Linked DNA regions of Homo sapiens: region 1 is linked to region 2. The links are contacts of gene promoters, found by promoter capture Hi-C in human tissues and cell types (Jung and others, 2019). All regions are on one chromosome and are shown on one strand. The core of a region is centred on a gene start or on the middle of the fragment in contact, and the rest is flanking DNA. Distances in the headings are between cores, read along the strand shown.

The links. Contacts are between HindIII fragments. The study calls those that stand out against the background at their distance.
Region 1: a contact is called between a fragment that was not itself captured here and the fragment with the promoter of FOXK2 in region 2, in 1 of the 25 tissues and cell types used here (dorsolateral prefrontal cortex).

What each region holds. Positions count from the first base shown.
Region 1 is chr17:82,818,296-82,823,214 of GRCh38, reverse strand. The region is part of intron 13 of TBCD (tubulin folding cofactor D); the gene reads right to left. Among named protein-coding and RNA genes, the nearest start is that of ZNF750, 19 kb to the left of the region's middle. The HindIII fragment of the contact is 3,186 bases long and covers 63-3,248 here.
Region 2 is chr17:82,518,208-82,523,274 of GRCh38, reverse strand. It overlaps FOXK2 (forkhead box K2), which reads right to left and starts at 3,543. Exons shown (of 9, transcript NM_004514.4): 1 at 2,968-3,543. The coding sequence starts at 3,386. RefSeq lists silencers at 2,704-2,753, 2,834-3,013, 3,464-4,123. The HindIII fragment of the contact is 19,651 bases long and covers 1-5,067 here.

The DNA of each region.
Region 1 (4,919 bases), core at 406-2,905, 300 kb before region 2:
GACAGCAGGGCCCCCCACAAGAGCCTGAGCCAGCCTCGGCACTGAGCCCCAACGGCTCTACCAGGGAGGGAATGCCCTGTCCCTAGACCTCAGCTGGAGCTGCTCTCCTGGAATTTACCATCCACCTCAGTGCTCCAGAGCCTGTGAGGAAACTCTGGTCCTCCACCCCTTCCCCCTCTCAGAATCGGACTCCTCTCCTATAAAATATCCCTTCTGAAGGAGCCTCTGCGGGTTTCCATGTCGGCTGCTTCCTCCCCTTTTCTCCACCTCCCCATGCCAGTGAGCCTGGGAACCCGGTTCAAGCTTTTCCACCCATTCACCTTCCTCATCTCTCACTCCCTCCTGTGTGAACTCATCAATCCATAACTTTGTAGACCATTACTATGTGGAAGGCTCCAACATGTCACTCACTGACCTTACTATCTCACTCTCTTTCACTGAATAGAACAGCAAAGTCGTTGAGTTCAGAATCCTACATGCAGCGTATTTCCTTTTCTCTTTCTTCACAGCTCTGGTCTCACTCCGAACACTGTGGTGGCTCCCGAATGGCCTCACTCTCCCTCGCTCTTCCTTTCCACTGCACCCCCGTGTATTCCCCAGTATCTGACTTTATGTTGAATAATTTCCAAACCCCTCACTGTGTTCCTGAAGCCCCTCTAGGATCTGGCCCCCAGGCGCTTTTCTGTGCCCACTCTTCTGCTCTTTCCGCTGTCCCAGCTCGTGCGAGCCTTCGTTCCTCTTTGAGATGCTGCGGTCAGGAGTCCATCCTGCTCGGCTCCTTCACGGTAGAAGCTCTCAGCGTAAATGTCGCCCCAGGAGGTCTTCCCCAAGTCTTATTCAAGTCACTGGTTGGCCCCATCACTGAGGATCTCACCGCCCTTTTGTATTTTCTTAACGACTTTATCCATTCTCTGAAATTGCTCCCTTCGTTTCCTTGTTTAATGTCTGAATCTCCCTCCAAACCCTGTCCCCTTCACCGTCACAGAAACGCTGTGTCCTCACCTCAACTGCCAAGAGCAGTGGGCGCCAATCGCACTTGTCATAGGAAGTACGTGCAGAGTTTTCGTCATCCAGAGAGAAAAACATGACAGTTTCTTTTGGAAGCCAGAAAACACAGTCCACAGGTGGGAATTAATCTACTGAATGGTGCTTTTAACAAGACCCCAAGGCAGCTGCAGCAACATCGTCGTAAGACGCTGCTTGTACGTCTTCGATGAACACTGAGAGCGTGTGCTCCAATGCAACTCTGTACATTTTTCAAAATTTATAACATTTATATAAACTTATAAAAATTTAATGTTTATTAAAATTTTTTCGAAATTTATAAAATGTATTATACATTTAAAAATTTTCTCAAAACATCACCTTAGATAAGAGTTAGGCAGTCTGTATTTCCGACATGCAGGGCTTACTACCTGATGCAGGTTCACAGGGACCTTGAGCCTCCTAGCAGTAAAACAAACATGCTCTCCAACCTTCAGAAAGTTGCAGGAAGGTTAGAATGGGCTTCTCTGTGGCTTTGGGACACCAGACCATTACACTTTATAAGACATGGGGTGACAGACTGCACCTTCTGGGGGAAGGGGTAGGCCTCCTTGAGAGGGGGCAGTGAAGGACCCCAGCCTGAAGATTGCATAGGGAGCTTCCTAAGTTTGAGGGAAGGCAGGAGAAAAGCTTTGTAGATGCTAATTTAACAGAGACCTGCTTTAGCCACACAGTGGGTATAAACAGACCTATGTCACCAACACAGCCCTCAAATCTGTTATTTGGGAAACACATATGCAAAGATTTCTTCCTTTTTAGGCTTTAAAGCAAAGGTTAAGTGCTGGGAAGCAAGTGTGAGCCACTGTGCTCAGTCTTAGACAAAAATATGCTCACAGATCTCAAGAAAACTGTGGACAAAGAACTAAAGGAGACCAAAAGAACAACATTTAAACTAACATGGAATGTTGATAAAGAGACAGAAATTATAAAAACAGGCTGGGCACAGCAGCTCACTCCTATAATCCCAAGGCAGGCCAAGGCAGGAAGATCACTTGAGTCCAAGAATTTGAAAGCAGTCTGGACAATAAAGTGAGATCCTGTTTCTACAATTTTTTTTTCCAGTGCAGCAGGCCTGTGGTCTCAGCTACTCAGGAGGCTGAGGCGGGAGAGCTGCTTGGGCCTGGGAGGTTGAGGCTGCAGTAAGCCGTGATACCACCACTGCACTCCAGCCTGGGCGACAGAGCAAGACCCTGTCTCAAAAAGAAATTATTAAAAGAGAAACTAAAGAGAAATTCTGGAACTGAGGACTCAACAGCTGAAATGAGTGCAGAACCTAAGAGACTCATAGGGCACCATCAAGCTTACCAACATGTATATTAACACAACAAGAGGACTCAACAGCTGAAATGAGCACAGAACCTAAGAGACTCATAGGGCACCATCAAGCTTACCAACATGTGTATTAACATAACAAGAGGACTCAAGAGCTGAAATGAGGGCAGAACCTAAGAAACTCATAGGGCACCATCAAGCGTACCAACATGTGTATTAACATAACAAGAAGACTCAAGAGCTGAAATGAGTGCAAAACCTAAGAGACTCATAGGGTACCACCAAGAGTACCAACATGTGTATTAACATAACAAGAGTCCCACAAGGAGAGGAGAGGGGCAGCAAAAATACCTGAAGAAACAATGACTGAAAACTACCCGAGTTTGATGAAAGACATGAATCTACACATCCAAGCTCAGAAAAACACCAAGTGCTAGTTATTATTACCCAAATCAATATGCACAATTCTCAATCAATAAGGATAGCAAGGGAAATAGGGTTCATACAAAATGTCCAAAGAGATCAGAACACTTGACATTTTTCAAAAAGCAAAATACTGATGAAAACCACAAAATGCATAATAAGGAGCACATGTATACATTTTATCAAAATAGTACAGTTGGCTGGGCGCAGTGCCTCACGCCTGTAATCCCAGCACTTTGGGAAGCCAAGGCAGGCAGATCACTTGAGGTCAGGAGTTCGAGACCAGCCTGGCCAACATGGAGAAATCTGGTCTCTACTAAAAATAAAAAAATTGGCTGGGCATGGTGGCGGGCGCCTGACTCCCAGCTACTCGGGAGGCTGAGTCATGAGAATCACTTGAACCTGGGAGATGGAGCTGGCAGTGAGCCAAGAGGGCGCCACTGCACTCCAGCCTGGGCAACAGAGCAAGACTCTGTCTCAAAAAAAGAAAAAAAAAAAAAAGGTAAACTTAAACCAATACATCCCCCCACCTGTGCTTCTTGTATCCAACAAAGGAAACCGTAAGGGTTCACAAACATTGTAGGAGCTTACTCATGGTGAGGAGTGCCCACCTCCTCCTGCCACAACAACAGAGGTGTTCAAAGAGGAGCCACAAAAAAGGTGAAAGGACCTACGCCAGGACCACTCAAGAAAAGTCCTGGAATTTGAATCACCTAAAATAAAGACCAAGTAGCCCTTTAACAGTAGTCCTCAAACAGAGGTGATGATGCAAAGAGAAAAAGAACATGGCCCACTGTCCACAGGCCGAGGCAGGAGGATCGCGTGAGTGCAGCACTGCGATCATGGCTCACTGCAGCCTCAACCTCCTGGACTCAAGCAATTCTCCCACCTCAACCTCCTGAGTAGCTGGGACTGCACCCAACTACCTTTTTAAAACAATTTTTGTAGAAACAGGATCTCATTTTGTTGCGCAGGCTACTTTCGAATTTCTTTAAAAAATTAGCTGGGCGTGGTGGTGTGCACAGAGTCAGAGACCAAGAAATAGGCTTACAGCACAACAGATGGAGATTCTGTGTGTGTGTGCACTGTATGTGTGGAGAGGAATCAGCAGGATTCCCTAAAAAGTAACCCAAAGAAAATGCGATGCTTTTTTCCTGAGTCCAGCAGGCAGAGTCCCCCTATTCAGAGGACTAAGGGCAGAAAGACCCAGGGTGCCTTCCAGGCAAACATCGCATCACTGCCTGCCCACCTGACTTCCCTAGTTTTACTTCTTCCTCCTTTAGCATGCACCAATGAAGCTCCACATTTCCTCTAAGACAAACAAAAGCTTTAGTCATCAAACATGCTCATCTATATTGTGTCTTTCTACGACATTTATTTGCCAAGCATTTGTTTTCGCGCTTTTTTTTCTTTTTTTTGAGACAGGATCTTGCTCTGTCACCCAGGCTGGAGTGCAGTGGTGCGATCTCGGTTCACTGCAACCTCTGCCTCCTGGGTTCACGCGATTCTTCTGCCTCAGCCTCCCGAGTAGCTGGGATTACAGACATGCACCACCACATCCTTGTATTTTTAGCAGAGACGGGGTTTCACCATGTTGGCCAGGCTGGTCTCGAACTCCTGGCCTCAGGTGATCCCCCCGCCTTGGCCTCCCAAAGTGCTGGGATTATAGGCATGAGCCGCCGTGCCCAGCCTGTTTTCACTTTTCAAACCAAACTGACAGAGAACCACAGTAACTCTCCAAGGAGACAAGGAGGTGCAGGGACAGCTCAGCCGTGTGACATGGAGGAGGCCGAAGGGCTGAGCATGAGCTGTGACACCAGAAAGACTTCCTGGCTCCCACAGCTGCAGTGTTTGTGTGTGTGTGTTTGTTTGTTCAGAGAGGGTGTCTCACTATGATGTCCAGGCTGGTATCAAATTCCTAGGCTCAAGTGATCCTCCTGCCTTGGCCTCCCAAGAGGCTAGGATTAAAGGCACCGCCACCACACGTGGCTCCCAACTATAGCTTTATATAAACAAGACGGCTCTCAGAGGAATGGTGTGAGGTCTAAAACAAAAACATAAAAAGCATGCTGCAAATGCTCATCAAATGTCAGCCCTGTCACCTCCTGAGTCAGCCCCAAGATGGGATCTCTTTCACCCCTGCCTGAAAGAACCCTTGCCCTGTGCAGAGACAGCACAGC
Region 2 (5,067 bases), core at 2,294-4,793:
CCCTTGTGTACTCAGTACGGGTAGAGAGTCCCAGGCCCATGAGAAGTCCAGGATACATGTTCACCTCGGTGGCCACAAGACTCTTCCCTGAGCACAAGTGGGAGGCCCAGCCTCCATCTCACTGCCCTTCTTACTCATCTCTACTGCAAGACTCATTCCTACTGTTCAAAAGGTCTGAATTCGGCCAGGCGTGGTGGCTCACAGCTGTAATCCCAGCACTTTGGGAGGCCAAGGCGGGTGGATCACGAGGTCAGGAGATCAAGACCATCCTGGCCAACATGGTAAAACCCCATCTCTACTAAAAATACAAAAATTAGCTGGGTGTGGTGGCGTGTGCCTGTAATCCCAGCTACTCAGGAGGCTGAGGCACAAGAATTGCTTGAACCAGGGAGGCGGAGGTTGCAGCAAGCCAAGATCACGCCATTGTACTCCAGCCTGGCAACAGAGCGAGACTCCGTCTCAAAAAAATAAGGTCTGAATTCTGGCCCTCACTGAAAGGTCAACTTATCTCCATGTTTATCATGTTAGCATGTGCAGAATTCAATTCAATACAAATCGTTCTGGCTGAATGGTGAGGAGAATTTTCTTTAAAAACTCAAAATCGGGCCAGGCACAGTGGCTCATGCCTGTAATCGCAGCACTTTGGGAGGCCGAGGCGGGCAGATCATGAGGTCAGGAGATCGAGACCATCCTGGCTAGCATGGTGAAACCCCGTCTCTACTAAAAATACAAAAAAAAATTAGCTGGGCGTAGTGGCGGGTGCCTGTAGTCTCAGCTACTCGGGAGGCTGAGGCAGGAGAATGATGTGAACCCGGGAGGCATAGCTTGCAGTGAGCCGAGATTGCGCCACTGCACTCCAGCCTGGGGGACAGAGCAAGGCTCCGTCTCAGGAAAAAAAAAAAAAAATTCCAAAAAACTCAAAATCTTGGCCAGGTATGTGGGAGGAGTGGTGAGATCATAGCTCACACCTGTAATCCCAGCCTGGAATGCAGTGGTGCAATCATAGCTCACAGCAACTTCAAACTCCTGAGCACTGGGGCAGGAGGATCGCTTGTGCCCAGAAGTTTGAGGCTGCAGTGAGCTGTCATCATACCAGTACACTCCAGGCTAGGTCACAGAGACCGTGTCTCAAAATCAAAAACAAACAAACAAAAACTCAAGATCCTCACAGTAGACGCAAACTTCCTTTGTTGTGACACAGTATTTTGTAAAAAAAAAAAAAAAAAAAAAAAAGTCAGATTAAAGGGTAGCCATTAGGACCCTACCATTGATTTCATACCGTCTACAGTATAAACACACATAAATAGCATTTTCATTTGAAAATTTCTTTTTTTTTTTTGAGGCGGAGTCTTCCTCTGTCCCCCAGGCTGGAGTGCAGTGGTGCGATCTCGCTGGCTGCAAGCTCCACCTCCAGGGTTCACATTCTCCTGCCTCAGCCTCCTGAGTAGCTGGGACTACAGGCGCCCGCCACCGCGCCCGGCTAATTTTTTTTTTTTTTTTGTATTTTTAGTAGAGACGGGTTTCACCGTGTTAGCCAGAATGGTCTCGACCTCCTGACCTCGTGATCCACCCGCCTCGGCCTCCCAAAGTGCTGGGATTACAGGCGTGAGCCACCGCGCCCGGCCTGAAAATAACATTCTTTAAAATGCTACTACCAAAGTTTAAGGAATATGCTGGTGCACCTTTCCATGCTAAGAAACAGAACAGCGCATGCACACACACACAACACGCAAGTCAAGAAGAAAAGCAACAGCTCTTACCAGCATCTCCAACAACCGAAAGCGTTAAAAATTCCAATTTGTAGGCCGGGCGCGGTGGCTCACGCCTGTAATCCCAGCACTTTGGGAGGCCGAGGCGGGTGGATCACGAGGTCAGGAGTTCAATACCAGCCTGGCCAAGATGGTGAAACCCCGTCTCTACTAAAAATACAAAAAATTAGCCGGGCGCGGTGGCAGGCGCCTGTAATCCCAGCTACTCGGGAGGCTGGGGCAGGAGAACCACTTGAACTCAAAGGGCGGAGATTGCAGTGAGCCAAGATCGCGCCACTACACTCCAGCCTGAGCGACAAAGTGAGCCTCCGTCTCAAAAAACAAAAAACAAAAAAATTCCAGTTTGTGTGGACAAAGGCTGTACTTGCAATGATCTAGAAGTGAGCCCCTGAGGAATAATTAGCATTTCCTAGACAGCAAGTTTGTGTTTCAAGCAGAGTAAACGATAACTTCATAAAACCACAGGACCAAGCTAAATTGTTTTGTAGCAGGATAGGCAGTTCCCTATCAGGCTGACTTAACACTCTACATGACCTTGTAATAATTCCTAATCAACTGTCTTTTTGTAGAAGTTATGCGAAAAGCATCTAGTTTTCCCTAAATTTTAAGGTTCAGAGCACAGATTGAAAATCCATCATGCTTGAAGCGTCTTCCAATTTGGCCTACTGAAAACACGGCAGGGAAAAAGGAGTCCTTCCTGCTTAAAACACCGCACTCTTGAAACAGCTCACTACTGAAAACGACTGAACAACAACAACAACAAAAGACAACAGACAACCCTTCATCGGTTAAGAGACATAGATTTTAGTTCGGGGCAGTTCCTCCCACCGCACACCGTTTTCACATTTCTGTTCAGCGCGACCTCGCTGCAGAATAGAAACAGCACACGTGAACTCCCCGCACGCACAGAACCCAGAAACCTTGACCCGCGCGCGCAGCCGCCCGCAGCCCCGGCTCCAGGAAGGGGGAAAGACGGGGGGCTGCACCTGCCAGGAAGGGGACCGGGAGGACGGGGGTCGGGGCCAGGGGCTGTCGAGGGTTGGGATCCAGCCGGGGCCTGGGTCCCGCTGGTGGTCCCGGCTGTGGGAGAGTCGGGCCCCCGCTCGTGGGTGGTCCCGGGCCTGGGCGCGTGTCCCGTCCCGTCCTGCCAGGCGCTGCAGGCCGCAGACCCCGCCCGCCCCGCCCCGAGGCCACTCACACGCGCGGCAGCTGCAGCGGCGGCGCCCCGCGCCTCTGGAACACGCCGTCCACGAATACCCCGTTCTTGCCCAAGCAGCGCAGGTAGAAGTCGCCGCCGGCGTCGGGCCTGGGCTGCGCGGGCGGCAGCTCCGGAGCGGCCCCGCCATGGCCGCCGCCGCCCGGGGGCGTGAAGATCTCGAGGTGGCGCCGGGAGATGAAGCTCGAGTGGCCCATGCTCACGTCCACCGAGCCCTGCGACGAGTTGCGGCCGATGGTCACCGAGCGCTTCTTCATCAGATACTCGAACTCGCGGCCCTCCAGGCGCGCCACGGCCCAGCCGCCCGGCGGGGACCCGCCGCCCCCGGCCCCGCCGCCCCCGGCCCCGCCGCCCGCGGGTGGCGTGCCCGCGCCCGAGAGCGCCGCCGCGGCCGCCGCCATGGGCCTGCGTGAGGGCCCCCGGGCCGCTCCGCGCGGGCGCCGGTGGCGCGGGCCGAGGCCCAGGCCGCGCGGGTCGTCGGCCGCCGCGCACCGGAGCTGAGGGAGGGGGCCGAGCGGAGGCCGCCGGCCGGCGAGCGAGCGAGCGGCGGCGAGGGGCGGGAGCACGCGCGGCCGCGCCACCGAGCCGGCACGCCGGGCCCGCCCCTCGCTGACGGACGGTTACGCCGGCCAATGGGGGCGGCGTACGGCAGTGGGGCTACCGAAGCAGGCCAATGGCAAGACACGTCGCACCAAGCTGCCGGCACGTCCGGCGGCGACGCCCGACGCAGTCCCGACTCCGGGCGCCGCGGAAAACCCGGGGCGGACAGTCGGCAGCCCGCGCGGGATCGGGGCTGGCGCGGGGTTGGCGCGGGCGCGGGAGCTCGGGGGTCTGAGCCCGGCCTGGCAGCGCCTTAGGCGCGGCGGGCGGGACCAGGCCCAAGGTCACAGCGGGCGCCAGGCACGCAGCGGCCCCCAACCCGGCGTGGACGCCGGGGTGCGGATAGGCGGCGGCCCGCGAGCCCAGGCCCGGCCGCCGAGCGGCCTTTTCCCCGCGAGGTGCGGGAATATCGCGGAGGGGCCGCGTGCCGCGTGGCCTCAGACCCAGGGGACCCGGTGACACGTTCGTTTTTAACCAGCAGCTCCAGGACTGGATGTCGTTATCTTTCCTGGCTAGCGAGTCATGTCATTGTGTCAAAACTGTCCTGCAAAATACGCAGAAGTTCTGAATCACATTTACTTAACTGTCGTCAGCACACAGTTTAAAAATATACACGAGGCCGGGCGCGGTGGCTCACGCCTGTAAGCCCAGCACTTTGGGAGGCCGAGGCGAGCGGATCACCTGAGGTCAGGAGTTCGAGACCAGCCTAGCCAACATGGTGAAATCCCAGCTCTACTAAAAATACAAAAAAAAAAAAAAAAATAGCCGGGTGTGGTGGTGCACACCTGTAGTCCTAGCTACTCAGGAGGCTGAGGCAGGAGAATTGCTTAAACCTGGGAGGCGGAGGCAGGAGAATTGCTTCAACCTGGGAGGTGGAGGTTGCAGTAAGCCGAGATCGCGTCACTGCACTTCAGTCTGGGCAACAAGAGTGAAACTACGTCTCATATGTATATATATGAACTATATATATGTGAACTATATATATATATATGAACTATATATATATGAACTATATATATATGAACTATATATATGAACTATATACATATATGAACTATATATATATGAACTATATATATATGAACTCTCATGAACGAATAGTTAATATCTTAACCAATCTGATACTAAGTTTTTAAAAAAAGAATTTCGCCACCGTTTAAAAAATTACAAGATCCCATCTAAATCAAGATGATCAATAGTCCAGATGTTCACTAATCAATGAAACTCCTAACATTAAAAAGAAAAAATCCTGTGGCCGGGCGCGGTGGCTCACACCTGTAATCCCAGTGCTTTGGGAAGCCGAGGCGGGTGGATCACAAGGTCAGGAGTTCAAGACCAGCCTGCCCAACATAGTAAAAGCCCGTCTCTACTAAAAATACAAAAATTAGCCAGGCATGGTGGGGCGTGCCTGCAGTCCCAGCTACTTGGGAGGCTGAGGCAGTAGAATCGCTCGAACCTGGGAGGCGGAGGTTGTGGTGAGCA